Linked DNA regions of Homo sapiens: all the other regions are linked to region 1. The links are contacts of gene promoters, found by promoter capture Hi-C in blood cells and fetal thymus (Javierre and others, 2016). All regions are on one chromosome and are shown on one strand. Each heading gives the region's core, a stretch centred on a gene start or on the middle of the fragment in contact. The rest is flanking DNA. Distances are from core to core; before and after follow the strand shown.

Region 1 (3,780 bases), core at 680-3,179:
TGACATTTGAGAAAGACCTATTCTGGACCTAAGTGTTCTATAAAAGTAATTCTGATTGTCTTCCAAATAACTGTCATTACTTTTAAGTTTCATATATAATAACGAAATTAAAAATCATCACACTATGTGAATTACAACCAGTAATGAAAGTCTTTAAACAATTTTTGCAATGATCACAGATTAAGTCAAGATAGTGTTTTACAAACCCATTATAAAACAGGAAACCTTCGGATGATTGATTCCTCTGTATAAATGCTGAGTAAACTCAGTAATGTTTAAAACTGAGAATAAGGTTAGAAGTAGGAAAAATCTGGAATGTTACTATTTCCTTTCTCAACTTACCCGTAATCTCCACCCTCGCATACACATTCCTCCACTCTAACGTATTAAAATAAAAATGCTGATAAGTTTATCTTTCTCTCTCTGGCCCTCATTTAGTCAGCACGAAGTTACACAATGTGCAAAAGTGAACACAGATAGAAACGTAAAGGAGGTAAAGTGTTCCAAAAAGATCAAATGAATCAAAAAGCTCTGAAACAGACTTGGTAAAGACACCAGAGTTGTTTTTTTTTTACCCCTCCCCCCCCCACTTTAAAAGGCAGCAACCGGAATAAATCAAGATAAAAACAGAATCACAAAAATAGTGCAGGACTGTGCAGATTAAAACTTTACAATTTTCAACGTCAAACTGCAATATGATAAAGCAACAATATTACTTAAACTGTTTATGAATATTTTTTCTCTAACAATCCAAGTCAACTTCATATAAAACACAAAGTTTCTGTACCAGCAAAAATACAAATGCTAATGAAACTTGGGCTTCTAAGGTATTATTACAAATCAGACTTAACTGTCTTAGATTTCATAAGCTTAACCCAATCCACAGCACGTTAATATACCCAATGAAGCAGTCTTAAGAATAACGCTATAGTGTGACACATGGGGAATTACCAAAGAACAACTTAAAGTATACTGACACAGGGAGAAATAAGCGGTTCTGATGATTCAAAGTTACACTCGTCTCACAGACCTAGTAATGACGCTAAAGGGAACTTTAGTGACACACCCAGCGCCGACCGCCACGTTAAGGATACAGCTCTTCCGAGGTGGAGAGGGCTCTCGCCAGCTCTGACTGCTGCTGAACCCGGATCCTGCTCCTCCTCCCAGAGGAGGTCTGCACCCCGGCTTGCCTCCTCGCTCACCCACTCCTCGCCCCCGACTCCAGCGACTCCCACCCCGGTAAGGCCTGCCTCGAAAGCGGAAACGGTCCAAGGCGAGGTGGCTCCGCTCCCAGAAAGACGGCCGGGGACTGCTTTCGGACAGTGAGCTCGAAGGCATCCGTACAGAAGGCGGATGAGACCGGAACGGTTCTTTGGGTCGGTAGCTGCTGGGTCCCCTGAGGTGGCCCCGCTCAGACGCGTGCCGCGAGCGTGAGAAATTCCTCAGCTGCTGCTGAGAAGAGGACGATGACGAGGAAGAGCCACCGCCTCCGCCAGATCCACCGCCCCGGGCCGAGTGAGGAGGCCTTCGCCGCGGATAGGGTAACAGCCCGCCGCCGCTGCTGCTGCTGCTGCTCCGACTCCGTATCTGGCTGTTATTATCGTCGTCACTGATTTCCCCATCTTCAAGCTCCCCTTCTTCCTTCGGCGAGAGGCCACTGGAGGCCGGGGCCGGAGTATCTGCGGTCGCCATCCGGGGAGCAGCGCCTTCCACACAACCTTAGCCCTCCGTCCGGGGATCCGCCCGACAATTGCCTCGTTTCCCTTCTTTCCTAACGGACTGGGTCGGTGCGGTCTTACCCTACTCGGACACCAAGCGGCCTCTGCTCCCCAACTTCCCCGCACCCCAGCACCCCAGCTCTCTCTCGCCGGACCGTCGCAACCCAGTTCCCTTTCCTAGCGCCCCCTTGCTCCTCAGCGATCGGGGTTCTTCCGCCTCGCGAGAAAGGGACTCTGGTAGCGGCTGTACCCGAAACGTCACTTCCTGCGACACGCAGGAAACAAAGGCTCCCAGTTCACGCGATAATAAGACCAACTCGATACTCACTAGGATTTGTAGTCTTTCGTCTTTCTTCGGGTTTACTCTTCCGGTCCTAGGGTCACACCCACCGCAGGGTCTGGCTTGGTACAGTTGGGTGCATGCAGAAGTAGGTGGAGCTGCTGTTGCAGCCTTGAGAGAGTTTTATTGTAAAACTCTTGTAATTTATAGTAATCGGAGGGGAAAACACCTCTTCCTTTTAATTGCTCTGAGGACCGCTGCCAAAGAAACGCAGTAGATCCGCTCCCTCTTGGGGGCGGGGAGAAAGAACGGGTTGTGTCCGCCATGTTGGTGAAGTCAAGCGAAGGCGACTAGAGCTCCAGGAGGGCCAGTTCTGTGGGCTCTAGTCGGCCATATTAATAAAGAGAAAGGGAAGGCTGACCGTCCTTCGCCTCCGCCCCCACATACACACCCCTTCTTCCCACTCCGCTCTCACGACTAAGCTCTCACGATTAAGGCACGCCTGCCTCGATTGTCCAGCCTCTGCCAGAAGAAAGCTTAGCAGCCAGCGCCTCAGTAGAGACCTAAGGGCGCTGAATGAGTGGGAAAGGGAAATGCCGACCAATTGCGCTGCGGCGGGCTGTGCCACTACCTACAACAAGCACATTAACATCAGCTTCCACAGGTAACCTGGGCAGGGAGTGGGGGTGACGGAAACTGGAGTTCCTATTGTGGCTATCGCTTGTGTGGAAGGAACAGGAGGATTCTGCTAATTCTAATAACTTTCCCAGCTGGTAGCAGGGAAGCATCGTATGTCCTTTGTGTTTCTCAAATCTGCCCAATTGTTCTCTGCTTTCGGGGAAGCTTTACTCATTTTCTAAAAGAAATCCAAGTACTGTTTGGTCATTACCCCTTAGTAAAAAAAAGTAACAGGAGGATATCGTAATTTTCTACTGTTTTATTCCTCTGTTAGACCGGGCCTTGACATGAATGACGCCGTAAGGGAGAAAGAGATCTTCCCAATCAGCAATCACCGTAAAAGCCTGCTGTGTTCCCGTTAAAATTAGGAAATTCTCACTAGATGAATTGACATGGGAGGCATTTAGATTTCTAATAGTCACATAGTAATTCTGCGGAGGAATTGAGTCATCTTTGATAGCCATGGAATTAAGCGATGTTAATTAAAGTGCAAAAGATAACCTTTCTGTTCTTACTAGAATAGAGTAATAAAAAGAACCTAGGTTTTCTTTTGTTTGCTGGAAGAAAAATCAAAATTCTTTAGTTCTGTCAAACCAGAACTCTTGAAAGCACTTTGAACAATGCCTGGAAAATAACAGGTACTCTGTAAATGTTTACCTTCTCTGCAAGTGCCTGCCACGTGCCCGAAGAAAAGACACATTAAAAAGTTAAGTGACACCAGTCCTGATTTTATATATTTTATATACCTAACAACGTATATGTTAGTATGTAGAAATTATATCCTTGACCTTTTTCCCTACCTATTACGAACTGTACTTTTATTAAAAGCTGCCACTTAAAAAAAATCTTGTGATGTTTCTGTTTTTAAACTAGTTCATGCATATGTAGTGCTTTGTTCATTCATCCATCAAATATGTACGGAGTTCCTAATTACCTGACATTGTGCTAAGGATCCAGAAAGTTCTAACCCTCCTGGAATTTAGAATTTAATGGTGGAGAAAGACATAAATAATTAAGTGCCACAGAAGAAACATTCAGAGACCTAACTTAGTCTTGGAAAGTCAAAGAACACTTTTTCAAAGGATGTGACATTTCAAATGAGAC
Region 2 (3,780 bases), core at 841-3,340, about 39 Mb before region 1:
CCGAGTGGGCCTTACGCAGCCCCAAGGGCAACAATACTGAGAGATTTAGGGTACCAGACCACCGGCCCCAGGAAAAGGACCGCAAGATGGGCGCCGCCATCTTGGTAGCGGCACGAAGGGAATGCTGGGATTGCAGAGGCTCCCACCACACCCACCTACTTACAGCTCCTAGGGAAGGTGCTTCAGTGTTTTTCTGCGCATGCCCGAGACGGTTACGTAGTTACGGAGCTTGCGCTCTCAGCAGTTGAGTCCCGACTCCAAGTGGCGATTCCGCCTCAGAGCCGTCGCCTTACGTTCCCTTAAACTTAATTTTTCCATCAGCAGTGTGGATCTGCTTATGATAGTTCCTACCTCATAAGGCTGTTGTGAGCCTTAAAAATTAAAGCATTTGGCACATAACGCTTCACAAATGCTAACTTGTATTTACATTTTCACGTAAAAAGATTGTGATGCGCAAGTTCTTTGAAGTCTTGGTTCCATGCAAAAAGCTGTTCACAGAGGTTGAGAAAGGTTAGGAATTGGTTTAAGTTCGCGGAGAGATAGGGAGTTGCTGCTGAGACGCAAGCAATTTCATAGTACCGATTCCCTAATTGCACCTCGTCCCCAGTATTCATCGGCTCTTCCAGGAGGTGGCAGTCTTGTCCAAGGTATAGCAAGAAAAACTCAGTGCAATAAAGTACATGCATCAAGTCCTGTGGTTTATTTATTTTAAATACAGTTAACTAGGTTGGGACACAGCTTAGCATGAGTGGATTCAAGTTAGTAATCACATCGTGCAGCGTGACAGGTGCTCTGAATACTGACCAGGGATGAGGTTCTTATTGGCAGCTGGCTGGCAGGTGATCTAGCTTCAAAATCCCATGTTAGAGCCTGATTTCTAGGACCGCTTTCAAAATCGTCTTAGGTAGAATTCCCTGGACTCTGAGTTGGGGGGGAGACTGGTTTGCAGGAGGGTAATTGGAGTGTGCTCTTAAGAACAACACCTATAATGGAGTGAGGGAGGCCGGGTTGGGCGGAGGGAGAAAGAAGTTGAACTGTGAACAATTTGTAATAGAGGCCTCAGGCAATCCAGTAAGGGCTCTGGAGCCGGGATTTCCTTTCAGAGTCATCCTGAATTGAGGCCAGGGGGCAGACCTTTAGACCCTCTTACTGACTGCTCATTAAATGTGGGATGTTTCTGGGGAGGAAGCAAAACGCTGGGTTAAGGCTTTTGGAGAGTGAGATGTGCAGGAAGGGACTCAGCTGTGAGCAATAAGCAACCAACACTCCCAGCAGCTGGGGGATTGAGTGCCTTGGTCCTGTGACTGGGATCTGGGCCATGTTCCAAATCATTCCCTACAGGACTTTTCCATTTTTTAACGTTATAAAGTTATCTAACAAAATGAAAACTTATTTTAATAATTAGTTTCTTTGCATGTATAATTATCAGTGAATTAGTTTCTCATTGCCAAATAGTAACTTCAATAGGATTTTGAGATACTCATTCAATAGGCTATTAAACATACTCCCAACTGCTTAAGAAAATAGTGTGTTCAAAATATCTTAAAATTTGCAATCATAACCTGTTGATCTTCAGTGTTTTTTTTTTTTTTAAGTGTCACTCTGTTGTCCACACTGGAGTGCCGTGGCAGGATCATGGTTCACTGCAGCCTTGAACTCCTAGGCTCCAGCGATCTTCCTGCCTCAGCCTCCCAAGTAGCTGGAGCTACAGGTGTGGACTACCATGCCTGGCTAATTTTTATTTTTTGTTTTTGTAGAGACGGGGGTCTCACTGTATTGCCCAGGGTGGTCCTAAACTCCTGGCCTCAAGCAAGCTTCCCACCTCTGCCTCCCAAAGTGTTGGGATTACAGGCATGAGCTACTTCGCAAGGCCAATCTGCAGTCATATGGTCCACCACTTTGATCAGGGACAGATTTCAGTAGGTATGGCAGGAAATTCTCCTGAGCACACGTAAGGAAACTCACATCTGGGCCACTTGTCACTTGAAAGCCAAAAACCCAAGAGAAGAGCTGTAGTGAAAGTAAAGTTAGCTTTATTCAAGAGACCAGCAACCCTGGGGGATGCAGTGAGCTAGCGTTCAAAGACCACCTCTGGTTTTTAAGGGCAATTAAGAGAAAGGATGATAAAAAGATTTTTGTGAAACGTGTGCAGTCTCAGGTCGGCAGTAAATCATTGCTTTCTTGGTCAATATTTTGTGGCTTTCTGCAGGTACCATCAGCCTATTCTTATTAGGTCGGTCAGCCCATTCACAGAGAGGCTGATCTAGGTATTTTCTTTTATCTCTGTTCAAGATCCTGTTTTTCTGAGGCTGATTTTAGTGAATGATCTACAAAATCAAGCAAAGTAATAATTGTATTCAAGTAAGCAAGCTTTCTTCTAACATGGAATCAGTACTGTCACACACACAGCAAATGGTGCTTTCTATTTAGTACCTTAATACATAGGGCACACATGTGTTTCTGGTGACACACAACTCTCTGGCTTTTACAGGTGTGTTAGTAATTTGAAAATCCTACTTGTTACAACAGTATGCCAGGGTTACTTGATGTCAGGGTTACTTGATGACCTGTGCTTAATGGAGAAGAATTTTGTGGATAATGAGAAATAGAAAATTTCTACCTGGGATTACAATTTATTATAAAGTCTTTTAAAAATAGATTTGAGCTCTGCTTTGTCTCTTAAGTTTAGTTGCATCTCATGAAGAGGCAGCAAAGTCTGATATAGAAGGTGGTGTCGGGCCGGGTGCGGTGGCTCACGCCTGTAATCCCAGCACTTTGGGAGGCTGAGGTGAGCGGATCACTTGAGGTTGGGAGTTTGAGACCAGCCTGACCAACATGGAGAAACCCCATCTCTAATAAAAATACAAAATTAGCCGGGCATGGTGGCGCATGCCTGTAATCCCAGCTACTTGGGAGGCTGAGGCAGGAGCATTGCTTGCACCCACGAGGTGGAGGTTGCAGTGAGCCGAGATCATGCCATTGCACTCCAGCCTGGGCAACGAAAGCCAAACTCCGTCTCAAAAAAAAAAAAAAAAAAAGAAGGTGGTGTCACAGGAGGTGCTAGATGAGACTTGACAGTAGCTTAATGACAGTAACAAGCAACAAGTTTGGAAAATACAGTGAGATCAATTACTCTCTTTTTATAATTTGTGTTGGTATTATAGGGGAAATTGGGCTTTGTCCCAAAGACAGGAGCAATAAAGAAGATGGGACTTTCAAACCTTTGGAATTATATCCGTGGCTAAAATTTTATGGGATTGCACCCATGGTTTGCATTTGGGTTACAAAAAAGTGACCAAGTTAATTCTTGCTGTTTTTATTGGCTTAAAAAGTGAGTGAACAAGGGTTAAAAAGTATTTTTAAAAATATGATTTATCTCAACTGTAATAACTTGAGGTTAACTGGCCTTGAATTAGAGGCACATGTGTTTTACAGTTACCTTTTCCTGCAACAAAATGCCACATAAATGTTCTCTTTGAAGGGATCCCTGTTTTAAATGGCTTGGTTTTCAAAATGTAAACAAATATAAATATAATAGAATTCAAAAGACACAGAGTAAACAGTAATGGTATTTTAACTGATCTCTACTTAACTTTGAAAATTTCTCTATCTCTAGCATTGTATTAAATATATATTCAGATTACAGCAGAGATCTGATTAGGGCTGAAATATGAGCTGCTCGAACATCACAGCAAAATGACAGCAGAAAGAAGTCTGAGGAATTCTGATCATTATAATCACTATAAAATATAATTCTTATTTGTGTTTTCTGTTTTTTTT
Region 3 (3,780 bases), core at 334-2,833, about 30 Mb before region 1:
CAAAGTCATAGCCATAGACATGTAATGTGTGCAAGAAATAAATGCTTGCTATTGTAAACTGTTTAGATGTATGGGGTTGTTACAAAGCAAAGCAGAATAATACAAGCATAATTCCCTTTTAAAGTGTGTAATTCAATGGTTTTTCGTATATTCAGAGTTGTGCAACCATGACTCACCAATTAAATTCCTCAGTATATACTCAAGAGAACTGAAAACATGTTCACAGAAAAACTGTCCATGAATGCTCAGAGCAGCATTATTCATAATAGCCAAAAAGTATGAAAGAACTCAAATGTCCACCAAATAATGAGCAAAATGTGGTATATCCATACAATGGACTATTATTTGTCCATAAAAAGGAATGAAATATAGTGATACACGCTACAGTGGATAAACCTTGAAATATTATGCCAAAAAGAAAGCCAGATTCAAAAGGCCACATACTGTGTGATTCCTTTATGTAAAATGCCCCAAACAGGCAGACAGAAAGTAGACTCGTGGTTGCTCATGACTGGGGGACTGAGGAGTGCAAGGTGGGAGTTACTGTTACTGGATACAGGGTTTCTTTGGGGGGTAATGATTTACTTCACAAAGGTTTAATGCAGTCAAAATTGGATAGGAAAAATCAAGTTATAGGTAAATTTATTGATCATAATTCAATGTCAAAAAACACATAGTATATAGGAAAGATGTTTTTCTTTCTTTACTGGAAATATAAGAACACATGCACTAGTGAATACATATGCTGCATACCATTAAAAAATCATAAAACACTTAGGTATTGCTGTAAGGAATGAAGTAATTTGTTTATAGTTTTTTAACTCCCAAATATCTATTCTCCCATTTTGAAAAACTGGTTTGGGAGATTTAGATAAAGAGTAGAAACTCACACTGAGAACTTATGACATATCAGTGGCTTATTAGAAGCAATAAGATAAATTAGCAAAAGCAACTCATCTGAAGACAGCACTTGCACTTTTAGGCCAAAAAGAAAAATTAAAGTTTGAAAATACTGGAAAAGTAAAGGTAGTTATCCAGGTTCTGGCTATTAGTTGCTTAAAACTGTTGAAAGCAGAATATTAAACATCCAACATTCAAAGAGGTAACTCTATTAAATAATTTTAATGAGGCAAAGCATTAATATGAGTTAGGTGGGTATGTCTTCACTATACCCATACTGACATTCAAAAGCACTGAAGTCCTAAAAGGGAACTTTTTCACTGTGGATCAAACTGAAATAAAATGTTACTATGGCTCATCCTCAAGTTTAATAAGGCATAAAGCATCTAGCTCTAGGTAGCTTGTCTACAACTGACCAAGGGGTAGCACAAGGTACCTTTGCGGTGATGAAACAATTCTGTATCCTAATCCTAATTTTGGGGGTGGTTACATGTATTTACATGTGATAAAACAACACTCGGCATAATAACATTTGTCAAACTTGAAGTTTACTTAAAACCAATTACAGGAGGTTTTTTATACATACATACATACATACATACATACATACATACAAACAAACACACACACACACAAGTCGCCCAGGCTGGAGTTCAGTGGTGCGAACACGGTTCATTGCAGCCTCAACCTCCTGGGCTCAAGCAATCCTCCCACCTCAACCTCTGGAGTAGCTGGGACCACAGGCGCACACCACTATGCCCAGGTAATTTTTTGTATTTTTGTTGTTGTTGAGAGAGTGTTTTGCCAAGGCTGGTCTAGAACTTCTGGGTTCAAGCAATCCACCCACCTTTGCCTCCCTGCTAGGATTACAGGTACGAGCCACCATGCCTGGTTGTACTTTTAAGTTAAACTAGAAAAAGTAATTTTCATTTCAAAATGTCCAAGATAGGAGGCTTCAGTGAAAACTATGCAAAACTTACCAAAGAGTCAGTGATACGAGATGAGCCTGACCAACATGGTGAAACCTCATCTCTACTAAAAATACAAAAATTAGGCCAGGCGCAGTGGCTCACGCCTGTAATCCCAGCACTTTGGGAGGCCGAGGCAGAAGGATCACAAAGTCAGGAGATCGAGACCATCCTGGCTAACACAGTGAAACCCTGTCTCTACTAAAAACACAAAAAATTAGCCAGGCTTGGTGGCATGCACCTGTACTCCCAGCTACTTGGGAGGCTAAGGCAGGAGAATCGCTTGAACTCAGGAGGCAGAGGTTAAAGTGAGCTGAGATCGCGTCATTGCACTCCCGCCTGGGCGACAGAGCATCTGTTTCAAAAAAAAAAAAAAAAAAAAAAGCGGATCACAAGGTCAGGAGATCGAGACCATCCTGGCTAACACGGTGCGGTGAAACCCTGTCTCTACTAAAAATACAAAAAATTATCTGGGCGTGGTGGCAGGCGCCTGTAGTCCCAGCTACTTGGGAGGCTGAGGCAGGAGAATGGCGTGAACCCGGGAGGCGGAGCTTGCCTTGAGCCGAGATCATGCCACTGCACTCCAGCCTAAGTGACAGAGCGAGACTCCATCTCAAATTGAAAAAAAAAAAAAAAAGTCAGTGATAAATTTAGGCATATTCAGCATAAATATTTGACAGTATGAATGAAGTGCTGCTGCAAAGCAGTAATGCAACTTCAAGGCATGTATACCCTCCCTGTGACTGTGCAAGAAAAGCAAAGATGCTTACGGACACATTAAAGGAGGCCATTCCCATGATACTGCCAAATCACTACTATTTAATTTTCAACTAAATTGTTTCCAAGTCGGGCGCAGTGGCTCACGCCTGTAATCTCAGCACTTTGGGAGTCTGAGGCAGGCAGATCACCTGAGGTCAGGAGTTCGGGACCAGCCTGGCAAACATGGGGAAACCCTATCTCTACTAAAAATAAAAAATCAGCAAGGTGTGGTGGCATGCGCCTGTAGTCCCAGCTACTCAGGAGACTGAGGCAGAAGAATCGCTTGAACCCAGAAGGTGGAGGCTGTAGTGAGCCGAGAGAGTGCCACTGCGCTCCAGTCTGGGTGACAGAGACTGCGTCTGGGTGACAGAGACTGCGTCTCAAATAAATAAATAAATAAACAAACAAACAAATAAATAATTTCTAGACAACTTAACTTCTAGCTCTAAGTAAGATCTTCTTTTTCTTAAATTTCTAATTTCATTAATCCTTGGCAAGTAGGAAAAGGACTGCTTATATATAAATGACACTGAAACAATCATCTACCCATTTCAAAGAATAAGTTAGCATCACACAATATACCTCCTCTACCAGCCCCCAGCTCCCCCACAAAGCTGGATTGATTTAAATCTAAAAAAGGGAGGGGAAAAAAACTGGTAGAAAGCTTTCCTATGCGTAATAAAGGTAAACACGATAAAGTAAAAAGTAGCCAATCTGAAAACAAAAATCATAAACCTCATACAGTACACACATTATGAACAAAATTTAAGTTTATACGTAGGGGAAGTACTTCCAATAGGTATGGCATATAGATAATGATCTTACTGCTTTAAAATAAGATTTTCTAGGCAGGGTATGGTGGCTCATGCCTGCACTTTGGGAGGCCGAGGCAGGTGGATCACCTGAGGTCAGGAGTTCAAGACCAACCAGGCTGGCCAACACGGTGAAACCCCGTCTCTACTAAAAAATACAAAAAGAAAAAAACAAAAAAAGCTGGGCAGTTGGCACACACCTGTAATCCCAGCTACTTGTGAGGCTGAGGCAGGAGAACTGCTTGAACCCGGGAGGCGGAGGTTGCACTGAGCCAAGATCATGCCACTGCACTCCAGCCTGGGCAATGGAGCGAGACTCTGTCTCAAAAAAAAAAAAAGCC
Region 4 (3,780 bases), core at 785-3,284, about 29 Mb after region 1:
CTGCCCTATAGCATCTTGCTGATTGAAGATCTTTGGCTTCATGGGAACTTAATTTATTTTATTTTTTTGAGACAGAGTCTTGCTCTGTCGCCCAGGCTGGAGTGCAGTGGCACAATCTCTGCTCACTGCAACCTCCGCCTCCTGGGTTCAAGCAATTCTCCTGCCTCAGCCTCCCCAGTAGGTGGGATTACAGGCATGCACCACCATGCCCAGCTAATTTTTATATTTTTTAGTAGAGATGGGGTTTTACCATGTTGGCCAGGCTGGTCTTAAACTCCTGACCTCATGATCCGCCCGCCTCCGCCTTCCAAAGTGCTGGGATTACATGCTGTGAGCCACTGCTCCCGGCTGGAAACTTAATTTTTATGGCCATAATTTTTAACTTGTGAATCTTTTTTTTTTTTTTTTTTTTTTTGAGACGGAGTCTCGCTCTGTCGTCCAGGCTGGAATGCAGTGGCGTGATCTTGGCTCACTGCAAGCTCTGCCTCCCGGGTTCACGCCATTCTCCTGCCTCAGCCTTCCAAGTAGCTGGGACTACAGGCGCCCGCCACCAGGCTGGCTAGTTTTTTGTATTTTTAGTAGAGACAGGGTTTCACCGTGTTAGCCAGGATGGTCTCGATCTCCTGACCTCGTGATCTGCCTGTCTCGGCCTCCCAAAGTGCTGGGATTACAGGCATGAGCCACCGCGCCCGGCCTAACTTGTGAATCTTTAATCCAAATGGTATTAAGACTTTCTGTGTTAAAGCCAGAAAGACTAGGACCTTTACCAAAGCACTGGCTTTCGCCTCTGCAGTGGCGGAAGCAATACTTACCTGTAAGGATTTCTTGAGGATTATTAGAGAAAGAAAGGATCCAGTATAGAACTTGTTACATACTGAACTTTAAAAAAAAATGGGGGAGGGGCATTTTTGTGTTATTATTATTTTAAAATAGAGACAGGGCCTTGTTCTGTCCACCCAGGCTGGAATGCAGTAGTGGGATCACAGTTCATTGCAGCTGCAGACTCCTGCGTTTAAGCAATCCTCCTGCCTCAGCCTTCCTCTAGAAGATAGGAATATAGATGCTCATCACCATGCCTGCCTGATTCGTATTTTTCTCTTTCTGTTTTATTTTATTATTAGTTTTGAGACTGAGTTTTGCCCCATCACCAAGGCTGGAGTGCAGGGGTGCAATCTCAGACCACTGCAACCTCCATCTCTCAGGTTCAAGTGATTCTCATGCCTCAGCCTCCTTAGTGGCTGGGACTACAGGCATGTGCCACCATGCCTGGCTAATTTTTGTGTTTTTTTTTAGTAGAGGTAGGGTTTCACCCTGTTGGCCAGGCTGGTCTCGAACTCCTGACCTCAAGTGATCCATCCGCCTTTGCCTCCCAAAGTGCTGGGATTACAGGCGTGAGCCACCATGCCCAGCCTTATTTTTTATTTTTGTAGAGACAGGTTCTGGCTATGTTGTCTAGGCTGGTCTTGAACTCCTGGTCTCAAGCAATCATCCTGCTCCCAAAGTGCTGGGATTATAGGCATGAGCCCCCACTCCCAGCCTTTGGTATTATTTTAAGACAGAATGAGAAACACTGGATATACCAATCTTAGGATACGCTAATCTTTTGGCATCAAGAGTGGTGGTGAAGTAAAAATGTTTTTAGGAACTAAATATTTAGGGGATAATTATTTGTTTCCTTGTTTCTAGGGTTATTCCTAATTGTCAGTTCCGGTCAAAAACAGCACGTCTTAAAACTTTTACTGCCAACCAGATAGATGAAATAAAAGACCCTTCTGGACTCTTTTACATCCTCCCTTTTCAAAAGGTAATCCAATTAATTATGTTTCATTTCTAGCATTGTAGACCTAAATTTAAAGATAATTTTAATTGTATATAAAAGGCTGTGTGTAACTTAAATTTTAACTACAACCTAATTAAACCCAAATTAAAATTTAATTGTTTGGGTAAAAATAAACGACCATGATTTAGTTACTTATTGTGAGTACTGATTTTTACTTACATTAAATCTAAGTGGTATGCACACATTAATTTAAGAAAATAAGTATAGGGAGGCAACTGTATATATTGGTGTGTCTTTTGAACCTCTGACATTTTAGTTATTGCTTATTTGTGAGTTTGTTTTTTAACTTTTTAAAGGAGAAAAACATACTAACATAATTGGTTTGAAATTCATACAGCAGTATACCTATGTAGTAAACCTGCACGTTCTGCACATGTATCCCAGAATTTAAAGTATAATAAAAAAATTTTTTTTTAAATTAAAAAAAAGAAATTCATACAGCATTACACTGGAAATGGTAACCATAGATAGAAATCAGTGATTTGGAATCTGATTTTTAAAAATTATTCAAATATTTATAATCTGATTTTTAAAAATTATTCAAATGTTCTTGATAATTAAATTTATAAAAACATTTTTTAGGGCTACTTGGTGAATTGGGATGTTCAGAGACAAGTTTGGGATTACCTTTTTGGAAAAGAAATGTATCAGGTAACAAATTAGAGTATGTATTAAAATTCTATTTCCATGTTTAATTGTAATGAAAAATTAGAATTTACATTTTAAGATTTATAAACTTATGAATAATGTTCTCCGCACATTTAAAATAAATAATAAATGCAAGTGAATAAAATTTCCATGTTGAAGTAGAGGTTGAGTAAAGATAGTCTGTATGAAACTCAAAATTTTACTTCAGATTTCTATTATTAGATCAATTCACTATATCATCTTAATTTTCACAAACGTTTTTGCTTACATATCTAAATACATGAATATTACAAGAGGATTTTGTGTTTTTAATGTCTGTAATGTGATTATAGGTATAAGGAGAAAATGTTCAAGTTTTAATACTTCTCAAGAATGTGTGTGAGAGAATTACATAAACTTGAATATCTTAAGCATCTTGCCCTTTGCCTTTTTTTTTTTAATTTAAAACATCTGCAGGCCAAGCGCAGTGGCTCATGCCTGTAATCCCAGCACTTTGGGAGGCTGAGGCGGGTGGATCACTTGAGGTTGGGAGTTTGAGACCAGCCTGGCCAACTGGTGAAACCCCGTCTCTACTAAAAATACAAAAATTAGTCAGGCATGTTGGCACACACCTGTAGTCCTAGCTACTTGGGAGGCTGAGGCAGGACAATTGCTTGAACCTGGAAGGTGGAGGTTGCAGTAAGCCGAGATTGCACTACTGGATTCCAGCCTGGGTAAGACTATGTCTCAATAAATAAATAAATACATAAATAAAACATCTGCAAGTTTTTTTTTATTATGATTTTCTTTTCTTTTTAATAGACATGGGGTTTCACCATGTTGCCCAGGCTGATCTCAAACTCCTGGGCTCAAGCAATCCGCCCAAGCGTGAGCTACCGCACCAGCCCCATCTTCTCTTGTTTTGTCTTTGTCTTGTTCTGTCCTTTTTTTTTTCTTTTTTTTTTTTAGGGGGAGTCTTGCTCTGTTGCCCAGGCTGCAGTGCAGTGGCATGATCTCTGCTCACTGCAACCTCTGCCTCCTGGGTTCAAGTGATTCTCCTGCCTTGGCCTCCTGAGTAGCTGGGATTACAGGCATGCGCCACCACACCTGGCTCTTTTTTTTTTTTTTTTTGTATTTTTAGTAGAGATGGGGTTTCACCGTGTTGGCCAGGCTGGTCTGGAACTCCTGACCTCAGGTGATCTGCCTGCCTCAGCCTCCCAAAGTCCTGGGATTACAAGCTGAGCCATCGTGCCTGACCTTGTTTTCCTTTCATTTAGAAACATAACAGCCCCAATATTTGTTGTATCATTCAT
Region 5 (3,780 bases), core at 864-3,363, about 28 Mb before region 1:
AATGTATAAGATTTATAACATTTTCTTAATTACTTAGAACAATTACATATTTAAAAACAAAGTCAATTACACTGAATTTTAAAATTCAATTTTAGAGACTTCCACTTTGAGCCCTGTTGGAATAACTGACACCAGATGACCTCCCACTGTAAACAAATAGAACACTGAACAAAACATATGAAACAGCCATCTTTAGAGACTGGCAAATAGGTACCACAAAACTGTAATCTAAAAGAAAAGAAAAACAAATGAGGGGAATCCTAAAATACTCTAATTTTCTGCCTAGAAGTACATTCTGGAACATAGCACAGACAGAATCCAGGTAGAGCACAGGAGTTTTGCTGAGTTAGGAGGGTAGATATTGGAATTCAGGAAGGCTGAGTGGGCTGGAATTCACAGGGAGAGTACCTGATAAGACAAAGCTTTGTAGAGAAGAAGTTCCAGAAATCTACATAAATCGTTCCTTGAGTTTGTTGCTGATCAGTAATTTATGCATGTCTACGGTTAAATGCTATGTATTATTTATTGTTGCGTAACAAGTCACTTCAAATCTTAGTGGCTTACAATATTCATTTATCTCCTGTAGTTTCTGTGGATCAGGACTTCAAGAACTCTTTGGTTTGGTGGTTCCAGTTCAGGCTCTCCTGAGGTTGCATGCAGTTAGATGTGGCTAGGGCTGCAGTTATTTATTTATTTATTTTTAATTTATATATATATATTATTATACTTTAAGTTCTAGGGTACATGTGCACAACATGCAGGTTTGTTACATATGTATACATGTGCCATGTTGGTGTGCTGCAACCATTAACTTGTCATTTACATTAAGTATATCTCCTAAGGCTATCCCTCCCCCCTCCCCCCACTCCACAACAGGACCCAGTGTGTGACGTTCCCCTTCCGGTGTCCAGGTGTTCTCATTGTTCAATTCCCACCTATGAGTGAGAACATGCAGTGTTTGGTTTTTTGTCCTTGCGATAGTTTGCTGAGAATGATGGTTTCCAGCTTCATCCACGTCCCTACAAAGGACATGAACTCATCATTTTTTATGGCTGCATAGTATTCCATGGTGTGTATGTGCCACATTTTCTTAATCCAGTCTATCGTTGTTGGACATTTGGGTTGGTTCCAAGTCTTTGCTATTCTGAGTAGTGCTGCAATAAACATACGTGTGCATGTGTCTTTATAGCAGCATGATTTATAATCCTTTGGGTATATACCCAGTAATGGTATGGCTGGGTCAAATGGTATTTCTAGTTCTAGATCCCTGAGGAATTGCCACACTGTCTTCCACAATGGTTGAACTAGTTTACAGTCCCACCAACAGTGTAAAAGTGTTCCTATTTCTCCACATCCTCTCTAGCACCTGTCACCTGTTTCCTGACTTTTTAATGATCGCCATTCTAACTGGTGTGAGATGATATCTCATTGTGGTTTTGATTTGCATTTCTCTGATGGCCAGTGATGATGAGCATTTTTTCATGTGTCTGTTGGCTGCATAAATGTCTGCTTTTGAGAAGTGTCTGTTCATATCCTTTGCCCACTTTTTGATGGGGTTGTTTTTTTCTTGTAAATTTGTTTGAGTTCTTTGTAGATTCTGGATATTAGCCCTTTGTCAGATGAGTAGATTGCAAAAATTTTCTTCCATTCTGTAGGTTGCCTGTTCACTCTGATGGGCTGCAGTTATTTAAAAGCCTGAAAGAAACTGGAGGATCCATTCCCAAAGGGGCTCATTTACGTGGCTGGAAGGTTGGTACTGGCTGTTGGCATGAAGCTCTAGTTCCTGTCCAAAGGGCTGTTTTGAGTATCCTCACAGCATAGCAGCTGGCTTTCCCCAGAGTGAGCAATCCAAGAACATGACAAGAAGTGTAATACTTTTATGACCTAGCCTCAGAAGTCACCTCACATCCACATTCTCCCTCAAATTCTTTCCAAGTTCCAAGGCTGAATGCTTACAAAGTAAATATCACGTGTGCTTTACTGACCATTATATCCCATCCACTGGCAGACAAATGGGTAAGCAAAATGTGGCATACACCTACCATGGGGTATTATTCAGCCTTAAAAGGGAAGGAAATTCTAACACATGCTACAACATAGATGAATCTCGACAACATACTAAGTGAAATAAGCCCATTACAAAAAGACAAATACTGTATGATTCCACTTATATGAGACACCTAGAGTTGTCTAATCCATAGAGACAGAATGAAAAATGGTGGTTCCCATTTTTCAGAACTGGAGAGGAGGAAGAATTGTTTAATAAATATGGAGTTTTAGTTTGGGATGGTGAAAAAATTCTGGAGATGAATGGTGGTGAGGGATGTACAACCATGTGACTGTCCTCAATGCCACTGATACTTAAAAATGGTTAAGATGGTACATTTTATGTTATGTATATTTTAATGTAATTTAAAATTAAAAATAAAAGGTTTTTTGAACCATCATTCCTCCTTTTAACATATGCCTCCAACTATTCACAACTTTAGAAAAGTGAATTTAAACTAATATATAAAGTTCTATAATTTTTTTACTCATTAACCCAAATTAATATTGTTAGAATTTCAAGTAGTATAAGATAAATAAGAATTCCTAGAGCTGCTTAAATCACTCACCAGCAATTCCTCTTTCTACAAGTAAAGCTAGTATTGTTTTTCCTTCAAAATGGATATATCTGTTAACACTTACTATATGCCTAATATTAAGTAACTATTACATAGTAAACAATTTCATTATTTCATTTAATCCTTCGAATATCATTGTGAGTCAGGCTTTCCTATTACCCTATTTTTCAAGTACAACCAAAAGTTATGAATTATTAAGTAACTTGCCCAAGGTATTATTCTTCCCATTTTTACATTTGTGAAATCAAATCTTAAACATGTTAAAAATTTCATAAGTCTTTTTGTGAACTAAAAGTCATAATATCAAATCAAACCCACATAGTTCCAAGGTCCAAACTCTTTTCATTTGCACCTGTAGTCCCTACATGGCACCATCCTATTTCTGTGTCACTGTGCAAATTTAGGTTCCTGGTTTTATCTTAAAATATCTTGCTAAATAAATTTATTAAATATGATCATCTGAAACAGTTCCCATCCTTCAAGTAGAATTGAGGCCAATTAAACCTAGTCAGCTGGACTTTTACAGTGAGAGTTCATCAGTTCCAGCCACCATGGGAATTAAACACAGACCCTAAAACAGTGATTCTCAAAACATAGCAGACCAGGAAAAAACACTGCCTGGAAATCTGTGAAAGCCCCAGAATCAGAAACTGAGAATGGAGCTCTGAAATCTGTTTTAACAAGAACTTTTGATGATTATATGCATGCTAAAGTTTCAGAACATCTTGTCTAAAGACCAGCAGGACCAAGTTTTCAGGTTCCCTACCTTGGGTAGGGAAATATAATTTGTTTTGGATTACAGAGTATCTCTTCACTTTCCCAAGCACAGTAAATATATTCTTCTAGTCTCTAAAAACTTAATTTTAATTGAGATGACTTCCAAAATATGAAATCAAGATTTACCTTCAATAAAACTTATTAAACACGAACCAACTGCTTCAACTTTATACATTTGTGAATAGGCTAATATAAATGCCTAGGTTATCAGTAAGGCTAATTTTTAAATTCAGTGTAATTTAAAAGGTTTTATCATCTTCTAGTAAGTAACAGAATAAATAAGAATTCCTAGAGTTGCTTAAATTGCTTATCAGCAATTCCTCTCCCTAAAGGTAAATCATATATTCTTTCCAATCTCTCTAGCCAAGTCTGTTCAATT
Region 6 (3,780 bases), core at 848-3,347, about 28 Mb before region 1:
AACATAGAAGCCTCTGATACAGAGAAGCTTTTCGCTTTTTACTCTTTTTGATAGTTTTAGAATGTTGTTCCATATGAACACATTATTTACTCTAAAATTGTATTTTTAAAATATATATAGGGAAGCAAAAATAATTGACAGAAGAATATCTGAGTCTATTTGTCTTAATTGGAAGGAAAGATCATTTCCTATTGAGAATGAGGGACACGCAGAACAAATAAAATCCACATAGAAAGAAGTAAAGGTATGAAATAGTCACTAAGGACTATGAGAGAAGACAAGTGGAAGGATTAACGGCAGTGTTGAAGGCCCTGTGGAAAGGGGGTTACCATAAATTTGTATTCACATCAGCAACCCTGGTGTACAAGTAAAGTTGTTAGATTTATCCCTGGCTGCAGCTCTCCAGGATGGAGTAGCAGAAGTAAAGGGGGATTGCAGAAATAAAGATTCTGTCTAGAGAGTAGTTGAAGTGGTGAAGCACAGGTTTTGGCGTAGTAGCAAATGAATTGTGGTCAGGCAGATCTCATGGACTCAAAAAATGTGCAGAGGTCAAGGAAGAGCAAAGTATGTGAAAAGTGGGTGGGTGGACCATATCTGTTAATGCTACACAAATCATTTCAGTACGTTTTTTTTTTTTACTTCTACCAAAGAATGTTGCATAAATTTTAATTGTAAATAAGTACTAATTGAGAAACATAAATTGAAAGGTAAATGTTTTTATTAATAGATTTGATTTCTGAATATGCTAATTCTGATAGTTTGTTGATATTACTCTTAAGAATTTTTCTGGTAAGTTTTTTGCCCCTTTCTATAAATTTTACTAGGAAAATATCAGTGTCAGAAAAAAGTCCTCCGATTTTTATTGCTATTAATGGGTGGAAAAAGGAAGCAAACCCAGAGGATAATTGGACAAATGAATTACAATTTTAATTTCATCTTAGGATATCAATGACTTGACTTTGGAATGTTTCTTTATTATGGTATAATCAGTTGCTGACATTTCATATGATATAGCAAAGTGTGATATATAAGCTTACAGATGTCATCTCTAAAAGTACTGTAAAATTTTAATGAGATTTTTCCATATTTTAGGAATAGAAGATGAACAAACCCATAACACCATCAACATATGTGCGCTGCCTCAATGTTGGACTAATTAGGAAGCTGTCAGATTTTATTGATCCTCAAGAAGGATGGAAGAAGTTAGCTGTAGCTATTAAAAAACCATCTGGTGATGATAGATACAATCAGTTTCACATAAGGTAACAGATAAAATTCTTTGTATTTTTAAATTCTTACATCACAATATGGAATGATTAATTGGTATAAGTACTGTCTAATGTGGCAGTTTAGAAAGTAAACCTCTCCACTATGGAGGAGACATTGGTAGTAGGTAACCTCTTTTTGATTGTTCCTTTTGCAGTTTTGTCTTCTTTGTCCCATATGTCAATAGGGCTAATACTGTGATCTCTCAAATAAGTTTTTTGGGTTAGAATCAAGATTCCCACCTTTGCTGTGGTTCCCTGTTTGGCAAGCCAAGTGAAGTTCACTCTGCCTCACACTTCTCATTTCCAGATTGAAGGAAAATAAGAATGTTACAAGAATGTCTGGTAAAAATCTAGAGCTTAAATTTCAAAGTGTGTGAATCTCTAACACACTCTAACAATGTATTTTGGGACTTTTTCAATTTGACGTTTTAAAGTTGTTGCTTACAAGTGTACACTTCTGTGCACAGAATTCTTAAATCTTAGCTAGGATTTCTCAGTGCTGTCTTCAGATAATTTCAATTTTTCCTTTTTACTCATCTCTGCTCAATTTAGTGTAAAATATGCATGCATATTTTATTTTTGTCAGTCATTGCAGTTAAAACCTATGTCAAAATGTTTCTTTGGTAGCAAAAGGAAAAGAAGACTATTTGTTATTTTCAGCATTAATCTGGGAAAGAACCTAAAAGACTTGGCTCCCTTGCAGGAAATATTTCCTCATAAGAAGAGCGAACATGTTAAATTACTTGAAAGAAGCTTAAGTTTAAACTGTGTTAAGCCAATGTTTAAAGATAATTTTTTGATATTACTGTTAAAAACTTATGGAAGATAATTGGGGCAGTGGTGGCAGGAAGATAAAGCTCTTCTCTTTTTTTTTTCTTTTTTCCAAGACTCATTCCTGTGACAGAAAAAGCTTTTCTTTACAGAATAATACCTGCAAATAATTGTGAAAAGAATGGTAGAATGAGAAAAATACCTATTTGCAACCACCAATGAGTAACTGATTCATGCAAGGCTCATCACTGAACCTAAAAGCATAAGGTGAAAGGTGGTTGTTCTCGTGCATGTGAGCAGGATATGCACAAGATTTTAAAGTATTATAGGCTGAGCACAGTGGCTCATGCCTGTAATCCTAACACTTGTGGAGACCGAGGTGGGCAGATTGCTTGAGCCCAGGAGTTCAAGACCAGCCTGGACAACATGGTAAAACCCCATCACTACAAAAAATTAGCTGGGTGTGGTAGTGCACGCCTGTAGTCCCAGCTACTTGGGAGGTTGAGGTGGGAGGATCACCTGAGCCCAGGAAGTCAAGGCTGCAGTGAGCCATGATCATGCCACTGCACTCCAGCCTGAGTGACAGAGCAAGACCCCCTCAATAGATAGAGAAAAAGTATTGTACACAAATTACTTGTGAAGTATGAAAGAGAAGGGTACATTTTTAATGAGGAAATCTGAAGTACACTTCCTTCACCAAGTGATCAAACTTTAGCACCAATAATAATGGTACAAAATGCTAATATGTACCCCTGGATGTGATACAATGGGAAAGGCACATTATACCTATGTAGTATTTCTACCAAAATGCTTAATCTGAATTTAATCATGAGAAAGTAGTCAGATAAATCTAGGCTGTTAGACCCATTCTATAAGACATCTGGCCCGTATTCTAAAACACACACACCCACAGACACAGATTGAAAGAGAGAATGCACAAGAGCCCAGATATGGCACAATTTTATCAATTATTCAATTGGTGAATCTAGGTGAATGGTTGTTCATTCTATCATTTTTTCAACTTTTCTGTAAGTTTGAAATTTTTAAAAATAAAATCTTTAGAGGAAAAACAGAAAGAAACAATATTGGTTAAATTTTTAAATGTTACTTTTCAAAACTAATTTTTGATTTTAAAGAAATGGAAAGAAATGGGTTGAAAGCCGACTTTGTGATTTTTTTCAATTTAATTGAATTACAGTTAAGATCAAAGGAATAATTTCCTAAGTTTTTGTGTGTTCTGTTTCTTTAATTAAGCAGGTGCATTTATTAAAAATTATATAGCTATCAGAGTCTTAAGTCATGTGGGAAGTAATATTGCTAGTAGATTAAGAATACACTCTTTTGTCAAATGAGATCTGAATTTGTACCTCAACTTGGATACATCATATTGGCTGTGTGGCTATGGGCTGGTTACTCTACCTCTCCAAGCCTGGCTTTTTCACTAGTAAATTCATATGATAATCATAATATCTTTGAACATGCTCATGTGTGTGCATCCTATAACCCACTAAGTAAATATCCAGTAAGTACCCAGTAAATTATTATCATCATCTTTGGCATCTTTTTTCCTCCTATCTTTCCTGTCTCTCTGTAATTCTTGCTGGTTCTCTTGTTGTCCCTTTTCTTTAATGTTGTAGGAGATGCTGTGGGCAAAATGGGCAGGGGAGATCAACACCTATTTTCATATGACCTCAGTTTATAAATGCTATTGTTTGAATGTGTCCCCAAAAGTTCATGTGTT
Region 7 (3,780 bases), core at 757-3,256, about 27 Mb after region 1:
GCTCTCAGATCCATAACACTAATAACCTGTTTTAATCCTTTATACTTAACATAGCAATTTCACATATTTTATATCATTAATTTTTCACAGCAACTCTGAAATAGGTGGGCTAGACAGCCTTATTTCAGTATAATCAATGAGACTGAGGTTAAATGATTTGATAAAGATTGCTTAGCTAGTAAGCAGTAGAGCCAGACTTGAGTCTAACTTCCTATTTTAAGTCTGTATAAGAAAACCATAATGGGTGAGTTATATGTTCCAGGACATCAGTAGTTCTCAACGAGGGGTGATTTCACACCCCCCCAGGTGACATTTGACAATGTTTGGAGACATTTTTGTTTGTCAGTACTGGTGAAGGGGAATCCTATTGGCATCTAGTGGATAGAGACCAAAAAGGCTGTTAAACATCCTATAATGCATAGGACAGTCCCTTACAACAAAGAATTGCCATCCCAAAAAGTCAGAAGTACAAGGTTTAGAAACTGTGCTGTGCAGTGATCACTGACAACACAGGACAAAGATCATAAAACTTTACTTGGTAAGATTTTCCCGATAAGCCACAGATTTACTTCAAACTTCAGTTTCTTCACATCTTCAACTTGTCTTAGATTCAGGATATAAAGCCTACCAGTATCTTGCACGTAAAATTTCTACTCTAAATCAAGAGAAGTTGAAGATGTGATGGGATTGTAAATTGGAGTAAATCTGATGCTTAACAGTAAAACCATTTAAAGGAGTACTCCTGTTGAAAGGCCTTAAGTTCATTATTCTTTCCCTCACTAGGTTGTTTCCCAGGGGGAGTGCATTGGGTTTCAGTTGGGAAACAAGACAAATCTGGGCTTCTGATGAAACTGCAGAATCTTTGCACACGGTTGGATCAGGATGAGAGTTTTTCCCAGAGGCTTCCACTTAATATTGAAGAGGCTAAAGACCGTCTCCGCATTCTGATGCTTCGCAAACACCCAAGGTACCGATGGTCAAATTTAGTTGGTGTGTCAGGTCCCATGTCCCAATAAGATGTAACTACTGACCTCTTGAGAACATCATGCCTTTTTCCTGCTGTTCTATAGGGAGGATAAGAGAGAACCATTGCGGCCAGGTGCAGTGGCTCACGCCTGTAATCCCAGCACTTTGGGAGGCCGAGGCTGTTGGATTACCTGAGGTCAGGAGTTCAAGACCAGCCTGACTAACATGGTGAAACCCCATCTCTACTAAACATACAAAATTAGCCAGGTGTTGGTGGCTCATGCCTGTAATCCCAGCTGCTCAGGAGGCTGAGGCAGGAGAATCGCTTGAACCCGGGAGGCAGAGGTTGCAGTGAGCCGAGATCGTGCCATTGCACTCTAGCCTGGGCAATAAGAGTGAAACTCCATCAGAAAAAAAAAAAAAAAAAAAAGAGAGAGAAAGAAAGAAAGAACCATTGCTTTCCTGCTTTTCTCTCTTGTATTTAAAACGAAAAAAAAAAGTGGCTGCCACTCGGCCTAAAATTGCTTTTTCTCTTTGCATGCTACCTACCACATCATCTCATATGTACCATTGTAGGCTTTCAGGAAATGTCTTAAGTAGGTGAGTTGGTGAGTGGTCTTTGCTAGAAAGTGCAAACTTCTTACTTTGAATCCGTTATTTCTAATGGGTTAACATAGAACAACAGAGAATAAATGCAGGCAACTGATAAATGTCAGGAAGGGGCCAGGGACAGTGGCTCATGCCTGTAGTCCCAGCACTTTGGGAGGCCATGGTGGATAGTTTGCTTGAGTCCAGGAGTTCGAGACCAGCATGGGCAACATGATGAAACCCTGTCTTTCTAAAAAATACAAAAATTAATCTGGTGTGGTGGTACACACCTGTGGTCCCAGCTACTCAGGAGGCTAAGGTGGGAGGATCACTTGAGCCTATGAGATTGAGGCTGCAGTGAACCCAGATTGTGCCACTGTATTCCAGCTTGGGTGGCAGAGGAAGACCCTGTTTCAATTAAAAAAAAAAAGTCAGGAAGGATTTTTAATGGGGCTCTTCTGTTTGATTGTCTTAGTTTCTAGAAATATACGTGTAACTCTTCTACTTCCATGTACTTCAGGAGTGAGTTTGTTTTGTTTGTTCAACAGTTAATTAATTCAGCAAATACTTACCATTATAATTATGTGCCAGGCACTGTTATCAAGTGTTTCACAGTTTTCATTAGCCAAAAGGGAGACAGCAGTTTAGTTGCTGCTTGTCTTAAGAGTATAACCTTGGATTCAGTCAACAATTTGATTTCTGTCATCTTAACAGCCTCTCTTTCATTTGTTCATTTAACCAACATTGAGTGTTGTGCCAGGTTCTGGGCCAAGTGCTGCAAGTACAAAGATAAATAAAGCATTCCTTGGGAATGTTATAGTATACTGAGTGAGAGTTAGGTAGTGGCTCTGCACTTTTTAAAAATGCCCTAATGCACCCAAGGATGCAGTATACTTTCATATGTAGCAGTTGCTGAGTATGGCAGTGATTCTCAAATTGGTAAGGGTATTAATATCAGAATATAGGGTGAGAAGAGTATTTTTGGGAAAAGCCTACTAGGTGATTCTGATGCATATTCGTTATATTTTTATGGTGCAATCTCTGCTCACTGAAGCTCCGCTTCCTGGGTTCAAGTGATTCTCCTGCCTCAGCCTCCTAGTAGCTGGGACTACAGGCTCCCCACCACACGCCGGGCTAATTTTTTGTATTTTTAGTAGAGATGAGGTTTCACCGTGTTAACCAGGATGGTCTTGATCTCCTGACCTCGTGATCTGCCCACCTTGGCCTCCCAAAGTGCTGGGATTACAGGCGTGAGCCACTGCGCTCGGCCCCTCCTTCTCTTGATATTGATCTGTGTAGAGGAAATAGGATTGAGATCACTAACCCTTCCCTCTTTAATTGCTCAGTAACTTTTCCCTAGTTCTACTTTTCCTTTTTTGCAAAATTAAAATTGACTTCTGTTGAGTAAAATAATGTAGCCACTTTCAGATGTGTCAGACTAGCTTACAAAGCCAGGCATATTTTTTTAATCTCTCAGTCTCATTTGGTTTGTGCTTTTGTAATTTTTCAACCTATGTATGTGCCTAGAGTATTTCTTTATTTTTATTTTTATTTTTATTTTTTTAGATGGAGTTTCGCTCTTGTTGCCCAGGTTGGAGTGCAATGGTGCGATATCGGTTCACTGCAACCTCTGCCTCCCGGGTTCAAGCGATTCTCTGCCTCAGCCTCTTGAGTAGCTGGGATTACAGGCTTGTGCCACCTCGCCTGGCTAATATTATATTAGAGACGGGGTTTCTCCATGTTGGTCAGGCTGGTCTCAAACTCCCGACCTCAGGTGATCCGCCTGCCCTGGCCTCCCAAAGTGCTGGGATTACAGGCCTAGAGTATTTTTTTTTTTGTAATGCACAGCCATAGTGTGTCATTCAGACAAAAATGTTATTGTATAATTATGCTATCAGGTTTTAGTTATATTTTTTCCCCTCATCTGTTCTAGTGAGTTTAGAAAAGTTTTTGGAGAGAACAACTGGGAACTGGCATAGAGGTTCTTGGTTACTATGAATAAACAAATTGATTAAAAAAAACCACTTGTATACCAAATGAAAGGTAATATTCTTTTAGATTACAACATATGAAATTGCTAGTTTTTAGGTAAAAAATGGTCACATATCATCATTATTGTATGATTCATTCTAATGCTAACCTGAGCTCAGTTCTAGTTTGGTTTTGGTGCTTAAAGACTGAGTTGGAAAATCCCATTACTTGGATAGTAATGGTCGCTTTTTTTTT

The links. Contacts are between HindIII fragments. The CHiCAGO score rates a contact against its expected background, and 5 or more counts as called.
Region 2: a contact is called between a fragment that was not itself captured here and the fragment with the promoter of ZFC3H1 in region 1, in 1 of 17 cell types (total CD4 T cells). The highest score is 8.7, in total CD4 T cells.
Region 3: a fragment that was not itself captured here is called in contact with the fragment with the promoter of ZFC3H1 in region 1 in 1 of 17 cell types (total CD4 T cells); the score reaches 7.5 in total CD4 T cells.
Region 4: a fragment that was not itself captured here is called in contact with the fragment with the promoter of ZFC3H1 in region 1 in 3 of 17 cell types (total CD4 T cells, non-activated CD4 T cells and naive CD8 T cells); the score reaches 14.7 in total CD4 T cells.
Region 5: a fragment that was not itself captured here is called in contact with the fragment with the promoter of ZFC3H1 in region 1 in 2 of 17 cell types (total CD4 T cells and fetal thymus); the score reaches 6.8 in total CD4 T cells.
Region 6: a fragment that was not itself captured here is called in contact with the fragment with the promoter of ZFC3H1 in region 1 in 1 of 17 cell types (total CD4 T cells); the score reaches 6.8 in total CD4 T cells.
Region 7: a contact is called between a fragment that was not itself captured here and the fragment with the promoter of ZFC3H1 in region 1, in 1 of 17 cell types (neutrophils). The highest score is 5.6, in neutrophils.

What each region holds. Positions count from the first base shown.
Region 1 is chr12:71,661,919-71,665,698 of GRCh38, forward strand. It overlaps ZFC3H1 (zinc finger C3H1-type containing), which reads right to left and starts at 1,930. Exons shown (of 35, transcript NM_144982.5): 1 at 1,095-1,930. The coding sequence starts at 1,692. THAP2 (THAP domain containing 2) reads left to right here and starts at 2,383. Exons shown (of 3, transcript NM_031435.4): 1 at 2,383-2,662. The coding sequence starts at 2,592. RefSeq lists enhancers at 1,553-1,672, 2,025-2,583, 2,033-2,392. The HindIII fragment of the contact is 1,665 bases long and covers 868-2,532 here.
Region 2 is chr12:32,755,775-32,759,554 of GRCh38, forward strand. It overlaps YARS2 (tyrosyl-tRNA synthetase 2), which reads right to left and starts at 123. Exons shown (of 5, transcript NM_001040436.3): 1 at 1-123. The coding sequence starts at 100. RefSeq lists enhancers at 1-342, 1-138, 343-982. The HindIII fragment of the contact is 556 bases long and covers 1,813-2,368 here.
Region 3 is chr12:42,135,274-42,139,053 of GRCh38, forward strand. All of the region lies in intron 1 of GXYLT1 (glucoside xylosyltransferase 1), which reads right to left. Among named protein-coding and RNA genes, the nearest start is that of GXYLT1, 7.7 kb to the right of the region's middle. The HindIII fragment of the contact is 3,412 bases long and covers 1-3,289 here.
Region 4 is chr12:100,203,254-100,207,033 of GRCh38, forward strand. ACTR6 (actin related protein 6) reads left to right here. Exons shown (of 11, transcript NM_022496.5): 2 at 1,687-1,804; 3 at 2,423-2,491. Among named protein-coding and RNA genes, the nearest start is that of ACTR6, 4.3 kb to the left of the region's middle. RefSeq lists an enhancer at 1-43. The HindIII fragment of the contact is 5,782 bases long and covers 1-3,780 here.
Region 5 is chr12:43,750,491-43,754,270 of GRCh38, forward strand. All of the region lies in intron 2 of PUS7L (pseudouridine synthase 7 like), which reads right to left. Among named protein-coding and RNA genes, the nearest start is that of PUS7L, 6.4 kb to the right of the region's middle. The HindIII fragment of the contact is 3,386 bases long and covers 421-3,780 here.
Region 6 is chr12:43,767,011-43,770,790 of GRCh38, forward strand. It overlaps IRAK4 (interleukin 1 receptor associated kinase 4), which reads left to right. Exons shown (of 12, transcript NM_016123.4): 2 at 1,093-1,262. The coding sequence starts at 1,102. Among named protein-coding and RNA genes, the nearest start is that of IRAK4, 10 kb to the left of the region's middle. The HindIII fragment of the contact is 157 bases long and covers 2,020-2,176 here.
Region 7 is chr12:98,658,377-98,662,156 of GRCh38, forward strand. APAF1 (apoptotic peptidase activating factor 1) reads left to right here. Exons shown (of 27, transcript NM_181861.2): 5 at 784-967. Among named protein-coding and RNA genes, the nearest start is that of APAF1, 15 kb to the left of the region's middle. The HindIII fragment of the contact is 4,050 bases long and covers 1-3,780 here.